Linked DNA regions of Homo sapiens: regions 1 and 2 are each linked to region 3. Evidence: promoter capture Hi-C in 16 types of primary human blood cells and fetal thymus (Javierre and others, 2016). All regions are on one chromosome and are shown on one strand. The core of a region is centred on a gene start or on the middle of the fragment in contact, and the rest is flanking DNA. Distances in the headings are between cores, read along the strand shown. Region 1 overlaps PDE11A (phosphodiesterase 11A). Region 2 overlaps MTX2 (metaxin 2). Region 3 holds the start of NFE2L2 (NFE2 like bZIP transcription factor 2).

Region 1 (2,804 bases), core at 180-2,679, 520 kb after region 3:
CCTCCCGCCTCAGCCTCCCAAGTAGCTGGGACTACAGGTGTACACCACCACTTCTGGCTTGATTTAGCATAATTCTTAAGGGCCCGAGGATTTTCAAAATGGTAAATAAGCACTGGCTTCAATTTAAAATCACCAGCAACTTACCATAGCCCCTAACAAGAGAGTCAGCCTGTGCTTTGAAGACATTGACTTCTCCTCTCTAGTTATGAAATTCCTAGATGGCATCTTCTTCCAGTAGAAAGCTGTTTTGTCTGCATTGAAAATCTGTTGTCTACTGTAACAACCTTTATCAATGATCTTAGCTAGATGTTCTGGATAACTTGCTACAGCTTCTACATCAGCACTTGCTGCTTCATCTCACACTTTTATGTTTTGGAGATGGCTTCTTCCCTTAAAGTTCATGAATCTCTGCTAGCTTCAAACTTTTCTTCTGCAACTTCCTCACCTCTCTCAGTCTTCATAGATTTGAAGAGAATTAGGGCCTTGATCTGGATTAGGCTTTGGCTTAAGAGAATGTTGTGGCTCATTTGATCTTTTCTTCAGACCACTAAAACTTTCTCCATATCAGCAAAAAGGCTGTTTCACTTTCTTATTATTCATATGTTCACTGGAACAGCATTTTTAATTTCCTTCAAAAACTTTTCCTTTGCATTTACAACTTGGTTGTTTGGCATAAGAGGCCTAGCTTTCAGCCTATCTCACCTTTTGACATGCCTTTCTCACTAAGCTTAATCATGCCTAGCTTATGATTAAAAGTGATAGATGTGCAACTCTTCCTTTCACTGGAACACTTAGAGGTCATTGTAGGGTTATTACTTGGCCTAATTTCCATATTGATGTGTCTTGGAAAACAGAGAGGCCCAAGGAAAGGGAGAGAGATGGGGAAGAGCTGGTCAGCAGAGCAGTCAGAACACAAAACATTTATCAATTAAGTTTACCGCCTTATATGGGCACAGTTCATAGTGCCCCAAAGGATTACAATAGTAACATTAAAAATCACTGATCACAGATAATTGTAACAGATATAATAAGACGTATAAAATGTTGTAAGAATTACCAAAATGTGACACAAAAACACAAAGTAAACACACACTGCTGCAAAAATGGTGCCAATAGAGTTTGCGGTCAATTTGAGACCTTGCCCATCTTGGCTGAATTCTCAATTTCTTTTTCTTTTCTTTTTTTTTTTTTTGAGACTCTGTCTGTCACTCTGTTCCCCAGGCTGGAGTGTAGTGGCTTGATCTCAGTTCACTGCAGCCTCCATCTGCTGGGTTCAAGAGATTCTCCTGACTCAGCCTCCAAGTAGCTGGGACTACAGGTGCGTGCCACCACACCCAGCTGATTTTTGTAGTTTTAGTAGAGAAGGGGTTTCGCCATGTTGGCCAGGCTGGTCTTGAACTTCTGACCTCAGGTGATCTGCCCGCCTCTGCCTCCCAAAGTGCTGGGATTACAAGTGTGAGCCACCATGTCCAGCTGAATTCTCTTTTAATTAAACTTCTTGACCAAAGAGATATGCCGTTTTTGCTTTTGTTTTATCCAAAGGTATGAAGCCAACTCTCCAGTGGTTTGAGTGGGCCCTCAACTTGGGATGAGAAATTCATTCACCATTTTTTCACCCAAATCAAAGGTTTAATGTAATCATTCTATGTCATTACCCAGATTAAAATGTTAATTTTAGTAACCACACTTTAAATCTCAATCTAATTTTTAAATGCAAGCCATTAAGATGCATTCATAAGGCTAAATACTATTCATTAGCTAGTACATAATGACAACACTGACATTCATTTGGCAGTTTCCCAAACTATCTTTCCCTCTAAATATTGGTACCTGTGCCCTTGCCAGAGGATAACATATCTTGTATTATATAAATCTTGAAATTTAACAGGTACTTTGCAACTACATCCAAATTATTATCTGGTGAATTAAGATGACCACACATTCTTTGACACTATTTCTATGAGAGGTGGGGTCTATGTCCCTTCCCTTTGACTCTATGTGGGGTTTGTGTTTAAACCATTAAGTTGCCAAAAAGTGGTTAAAAAGCAATAAATAAACAAAACATTATCAACATTCAACTGGGACTTGCCACCCTATGCCATCCAAAGATTTCTGTAATCAGGTGTCAACTGAAGCTTCCTTGTCTTTCAAAATCTAGGTAAGATCAACGTGAACCCCTAAACTCATGAAATACTATGGAAATTCAAAGCCTTTTTCAAAATGTCTACATATTCTTGGCAGGTTTATATTCTCATCTTGGCCTTTGAGTTCTTATGTATTCTTGTGCTGTATCTGTTATATAATCATCACACTAAATGTGAAATTCAGCTCCCTCCTCAATTTCCACACCAAAAAAATCCACTCACATCAAGAATTCATAAATTTAGTATAATGTGAAGAAGGTTCTTTCTTTTTTGCTTCCTTCCTTCCCTCTTCCCTTCTTCCCTACTTCCTTCCTTTCTCTTTCTCCCTCCTTTTTCTTCTCTTTCTCTCCCTTTCTTTTCTTTCTTTCCTTCCTCCATCCTTCCCTTCCTTCTTTCTCTATCTCTCCCCTCTCCACTTGCTTTCTGAAAAGACAAATTATGAAGTTGCATCAAAACAAACAAACAAACAAACAAACAAACAAGCACCCTCTCATGAAGTATCAGCTCCACCATTCTCAAAATAGATTTTGCCCCTGCCACCAATGGGGCATTTCACTGACCATTAATCTCGTACAGTCTCAGCCTTTACTCATATTTCTGGCTTCTCTCCAATGTAACTTTCTCTTTTTCTCTTTTCCCCCTCCCTATATTCAAATGTAT
Region 2 (2,935 bases), core at 106-2,605, 990 kb before region 3:
GAAACAAAATCAGGCTTATATAGTTAGATCAGCGATTTAATTTAGTTTGCTACTATGTTGAAAAAAAAAACTTCACAGTGTATGTTGAGTGGTTCACTGTGTGCATGTGTCCTAATATGTGATTTCTTTTAATGAGAAAATGATGAATGTCTTTTAATAAACTTTGGATACTGCTTTAAGTAGTGACGTTTAAAAATTTCTAGGCATTTTGTCTGTCTGCCGTCTTAGCTATTTGTAGTGATCTGTTACTCTAGGAGGAAGCATTTAAAAATGGATAATTCAATAAATGGTGTTGGAACAACTACTAAGTCATTACACCACATGAATAAATTCCAGATTGATTAAAGATCTAAATATAAAACAACAAAATTGTAATAAAATAATTAGAGGAAAACATAGATTATTTTAATAATCCTTGGATAGCAGAAGAGGCCTAAGCAAAACTTAAGAATTCATAATCCATAAGAGAAGAAATTGGCAGATTTGATTGCCGAAAAAATTTTAAAACTTTGATAAAAGACATCTCAAGTTAGTACAAATAAGAAGACAAACCAACAGAATCAAGGACAAAGGATTGGAACAGGCATTTCACAAAAGGGTGAAATATAGATGGACAGTGAACAGATGAAAAGATGTTCTCTGTCCCTAATAATGTATAGCATCCTCCCACCCCTGCCATCAGATGGACAAAAGTGAATATGATTTCTAGTACTAATAGGGCATGGGGAAAAGTTACTCTCAAACTATTGGGTCTGTAAGTTAGTATTACTTTTTGGGAACGTAATGTAGCAATATTTATTAAAATGACATTCTCTGGCCTGAAAATTCTACTTATGGGGGTTTATCTGATAGAAATGTAAAGACCAGTACTTAAAGAAATACACAATGATATTAATTGCAGCATTATTTGTAATAGCGAAAAACTAGAAATGTTTTAAATATATGTCAAATTATTGTACACCAATCCACCAATTCCACTTCTGGGCATGTATCCAAAGGAATTGAAATTGTCTAAGAGGTATGTGCAGTCCCATGTTCATTGCAGCAGTATTCACAATAGCCAAGATATGGAAGCAACCCAGGTGTTTATCAGTGGATGAATGGATAAAGAAAATGTATATAAGATACAATGGAATACTATTCAGCCTTAAAAAAGAAGGAAACCCTATCATTTGTGATAAAATGGATGGATCTGGAGGACATTATGCTAAATGAAATAAGCTAGACATAGAAAGACAAGTAGTGATCTAAAATCTAATCTTTTTGGGGAAATCTAAGAAAGTTGATCTCCTAGAAACAGAATAGAAAGGTGGTTACCAGAGGCTGAGGGGGACAGAGGTGAGAGATGGGGAAGAGGAATGGAGAAGAGATGTTGATCAAAGGGAACAAAGTTTGTTAGACTAGAAGAAAAAGTTTTAGTGATCTATTGCACTGCAAGGTGACCACAGTTAATAATAATGTATTATATATTTCAAAATTGCTAAAGGCTTAGATTTATAATTTTCTTACAAAAATTTAAGTTGGTGCGGTGATGGATATATTAATTACCTTGATTTATTCTTTCTATTCTTTGATTTATTTAGTTCAAAATATCACGTTGTACCTCCTAAATGTACAGTTATTATTTGTCAAAAACATTTATACAAAAATTATGGTATGGTCACATTTTTACAGATCCAAAAATGAAGAAGTATATCTGTTAAATACGTTGTCTTGAAAGCTATGGTTATATTAAGTAAAAAGTTATAAAATAATATCTATTTTGTATGAACTCATGAAATCTATATAAACATACATATGTTTATATATGTTAAGAATATTCAACTAATTGTAACTAGCGATTGGGATAATAAAGATAGATTGTTGGTAGAGGGTGGAGGAACTATATTTCTGAATTGTTTGAATTACTATAGTGAGCATAGTTTACTTTTGTAATTTAAATGATTGTAATTGTTAAAATTTATAAGATTATGTTTTGCCAAGAAGTGAAAACAGGAGGCTGCCTTAATCTGTTTTGTGTTGCTATAACAGAATACCACAGACTAGGTAAGTTACAAAGAAAAAAAATTCAAGTCTCACATTTTGGGAGGCAACGAACTCCAGCTTCAAGGTGCCGGTATCTGATGCGAGCCTTTGTGCTGCATTATCCTGTGGCAGAAGGTGGAAAGGCCAGGGAGGGCAAGAGCCAGGGACTGAGAGGGCTGAACTTGCTTTTACAACAACCTACTCTTGGGATAAAGAGATGAATCCATTCATGAGGGTGGAGCCCTCATGATCTAGTCATCTCTTAACAATCCCACCTGTTAATACTGTCAGAATGGTAATTCCATTTCAGCATGAGTTGTGAAGGGGATATTCAGACTATAGCAGTGGTTAAAGTAATAATTTATCGGAAACCCTGTGTTTGACTTGTAAATGACTTATAAATGTGACTCAAATCCAGCAACTATTCACAGTGTTCTGTTTCTGGTAGTACAGGTTGGAGTTATGTATCTATATAGATCTGTTATAACTTAAGTAATTATGAATCTGTTTTTGTAGTTGAGAGCTCTAATTTTTAGTGTATCCAACACTTTGCTTATTACCTTTCCTTCCTGTGGACATGAGCTAACACTGATTATTTCTTTTGGAAACATTTAAAGATATCTGGCATCTCTCTGTGGTATTCTTGAAGTGACTTCTTTGAGATCCTTATTCATAAGGATATCTTTTTAGAAGTCTTCTCTGAACTCCCCAGTTTAAGTGAACTGCTTCTATCTCCTTACTACCAGTATTTCCCTTGCCAACTTTTCTCAGTTATCGTTCCTAAATAGGACTTATTCTGTCCATTTCTACTGCTGTTACCTTAGTTCAAAGCTTTGTCATTTTTTGCTTAGATAACCATAGTAGTCTCTGAATTGATTTCTCTGCTTCCAGTCTGGCTTCCTTCCAGTAG
Region 3 (2,979 bases), core at 79-2,578:
TTACCCTTGACAGCACAGAAGAGAATATCCCGTCTTACACATTTTGGAATTGCAATTCTGAAACGCTAAATCCAAAGACAAAGCCGCTCTGGGGAAAATAGCAATTGCGCAACAGATCAACAGCTCCAACCTGTCCCTTGGCCCTGGCGCGGCGAGGTTTGCACGCTATAAAGCAGGAAAGGGCCAACCGAGGGCTGCTGTGACGGCCAACCGAGCGCTGTCACGGAAGCCAAGGCCACGCGCGCGGTGAGCGCCACCAGGGGGCACCGCGTCCGAACTAGAAGCCCCGGGTGCCGCCGACTCCGGCCTCAGAGTCCACTGCCCTCGCCCGCACTTTCCCGCGGCGTTACGAGGGGCCAACTCCGGGTGCCCGAGCCCGAACCCCTCCCCGGCCGAGAAAGTGCGCGGGGCCCGGCTCAGCCGCCACACGTCGGGGCTTCTGAGCCCGCTGGGCACTTAAGGCGCTCCTCCCTCGTCCCGGGGCTGGGCTTTCAAGAGAGCTCAAGGCTGCCAGAGAGTGATCCGAGAGATGGATGACTTCGCAAAGCCGCGCCCACAGACGGCCCAGCGGGGTGAGCGCGTCGCAGCCCGCACTCAAGGAGGTCTTGGGGCGCGGCGAAGGGGCTCCGGGTCCCAGCCCGAAGGCGACCTCAGTTCCCCCGAGAGCGGCCCCGTGACTAGGCACATTTTTGCCGGCACCGAGGCGGGGGAGCCGCGCAGCCCCGGAAGGGCCGGGCCGCGCCGGCTCAGACGGCCAGCGTCCGCCCCCTCTTGCCCCGCCGCCCACCGGGCCGCTCAAACTTAGGGGCTCCGGAGTCCCAGCTCTCGGGCCCGGGGACGCGGCTGGATTCTCCCCCAAGGCCCACGCGAGCGGGCTCAGTCCCCAGACCTTCCCGCAACTTCCCACCCGTTCGCCCTCGGGCTCGTGGTCGGTCGGATCACCCGGCCGCGTCCCCGCTGCCCCTCCCCGCCCTGCCCCGGCGCAAGCGCGGCGGCTCTACCCAGCGCCGCGGTCCTGGCTCTGGCCAGACGTGGGGGAAGCCGGTTGCGGCTGTCCCTCCCGGGCCGCGGTTCCCTAGCTCCCCCGCCCCCGTCCCGGCACCACCGCAGGGCCCAGAGGGCCGAGGCAGCACCTGCTGGGACGGGAGTCCCGGCGGCGGCAGCTCCAAGTCCATCATGATGAGCTGTGGACCGTGTGTTGGGGCTCCCCGACGGCGGCCCTGTTCCGGCTGCCGAGGCGCGGCGCGGACAGGGCGGCTCTGGTGGCGGCGGCGGCGGCGGTGGCGGCTGCGTCGGCGGCTCCTCCGGGCTCCCCGGCACTCGGTAATCGGCTACACGCCGGCGGGCCCCTGCCCCGCTCCGCCTCCCGCCCCACAAGGGCGGGGCAAGAGTCCGGGCCCTTCCTTCCCCCGCCGGCCGCGCGGGCTGAGCTTCCGAAAATCCCCCACCCGCGCCGGGGCTGACGCAAGAAGCTCGCGGTCCGGGGGCGGGAAGGGACTGCCAGCTGGGGTCCCAGCAGGCGGGGGACCTAGAGGAGGTCTCCGTTAGCTCCCCGGTGCCGGCGTTCAGTTTGCCCTCCCCCGCAAATAAGGGCAGCGCTCTCGCCCGCGAGATAAAGAGTTGTTTGCGAAGGTCGCTGGAGTTCGGACGCTTTGAAACAGTTTAAACAGTTGGAACAAACACACCCGGAGCCCCGGAAAGGCGTTGGTGTAGGAGCTGCGCCTCCCTGATTTGGAGTTGCAGAACCTTGCCCTGCTTTTATCTCACTTTACCGCCCGAGAATGGCGCCAGCCGGGGTGGGGGGGGCTAAAGATTTGGACCCAGACCGTGCCACTGCCAACTGCCCTCCCGCCCTTGCTCCCTTCCCGGGCTGGGGCCAGTGGGCCCTGCCTAGGGGAGATGTGGACAGCTCCGGCAGCTCGTGTTCGCAGTCACCCTGAACGCCCTCCTCTGAACTCCCACGTGTCTCCATTCTCCTAAGCTCAGGTCGTCAAAGGCAAACGGAGAAGCCCCTTTAGGTCGGAGAGTGGTCAGTATTGCCCACCCAGAGCTGGGAGAAAAACGGGAACCCCAAGAGAACCTCTTCCCACCAAAGCGCAGCCACCACGCCACAGATGGCGCCCTTCAACAGTGTGTAATACCACAACATGCTGTAATCGTTTACTCTTTACAAATTTCTTTTTCACGTACTCACAAAATAGTACAAATTAAAAAAAGTTACAAAAACGTTTGTATAGTATTGGCTCATTTTATAAAAACGTGCCTAGAAAAAAATTGAAGGTTACCAATATATTAAATGCTGTGGAATCAACGATTTTTATGTTTCTCCTTGTTACTTCCAAGTATGCTTTAAATCTGCAGTGCGTATGTTTTATGTCTTACATTAAAAACAATTATTTAAAAATTAATCATTGCCCAGAGAAGACTTCAAGTATTTGAAACGAGGAATATTGTGAACTCTTATAAGGGTTCAAAGAGGATAGATAAATGGTTTAGTTTTGTTTTTTTCTTCCTCTTCTGCATTTACAATCTTTCTAACTCTATACAAGACTGGTTTTCAGTTTCTAGCTTCCTGGAATTATTCAAAACCAGGTGAAGTAGATAATACTGGCAGTGGTTTTGCTATTTCATTCAAAAACCACACACACACCCCTGACTATAGCAATCAACGCCCAAAAAGCTGCAGAGCTTACTTTCTCTAGGTTGCATAATTTGACACTCCCAGGATTTATGTGTAAATTTGTATATTCAGATATTCCTTGAGATAAGTGAAGCCTAAATTAATTACTTGTAATTGAAGCAAGCTTCTTTAACTCCTATTAATTCCTTTCAGCTGTTATGTGAAAACCCTGCAACATGATCTGCACAATGAAAACAAGTTAGGAGAAAACTGTTTGCAAAGGACCTCACATGAAAGATGCAGAGACATAATAATAAAATAACATTTCTGAGTCCAAGAAAAAGACAAGAGTAAATTGT

The links. Contacts are between HindIII fragments. The CHiCAGO score rates a contact against its expected background, and 5 or more counts as called.
Region 1: a contact is called between a fragment that was not itself captured here and the fragment with the promoter of NFE2L2 in region 3, in 1 of 17 cell types (total CD4 T cells). The highest score is 5.5, in total CD4 T cells.
Region 2: a fragment that was not itself captured here is called in contact with the fragment with the promoter of NFE2L2 in region 3 in 1 of 17 cell types (activated CD4 T cells); the score reaches 5.0 in activated CD4 T cells.

The regions. Positions count from the first base shown.
Region 1 is chr2:177,780,327-177,783,130 of GRCh38, forward strand. All of the region lies in intron 9 of PDE11A (phosphodiesterase 11A), which reads right to left. Among named protein-coding and RNA genes, the nearest start is that of PDE11A-AS1, 110 kb to the left of the region's middle. The HindIII fragment of the contact is 1,408 bases long and covers 726-2,133 here.
Region 2 is chr2:176,270,917-176,273,851 of GRCh38, forward strand. The region is part of intron 1 of MTX2 (metaxin 2); the gene reads left to right. Among named protein-coding and RNA genes, the nearest start is that of MTX2, 2.9 kb to the left of the region's middle. The HindIII fragment of the contact is 2,998 bases long and covers 1-2,854 here.
Region 3 is chr2:177,263,399-177,266,377 of GRCh38, forward strand. NFE2L2 (NFE2 like bZIP transcription factor 2) reads right to left here and starts at 1,329. Exons shown (of 5, transcript NM_006164.5): 1 at 1,134-1,329. The coding sequence starts at 1,178. RefSeq lists an enhancer at 1-502 and silencers at 183-342, 603-1,472. The HindIII fragment of the contact is 5,708 bases long and covers 1-2,802 here.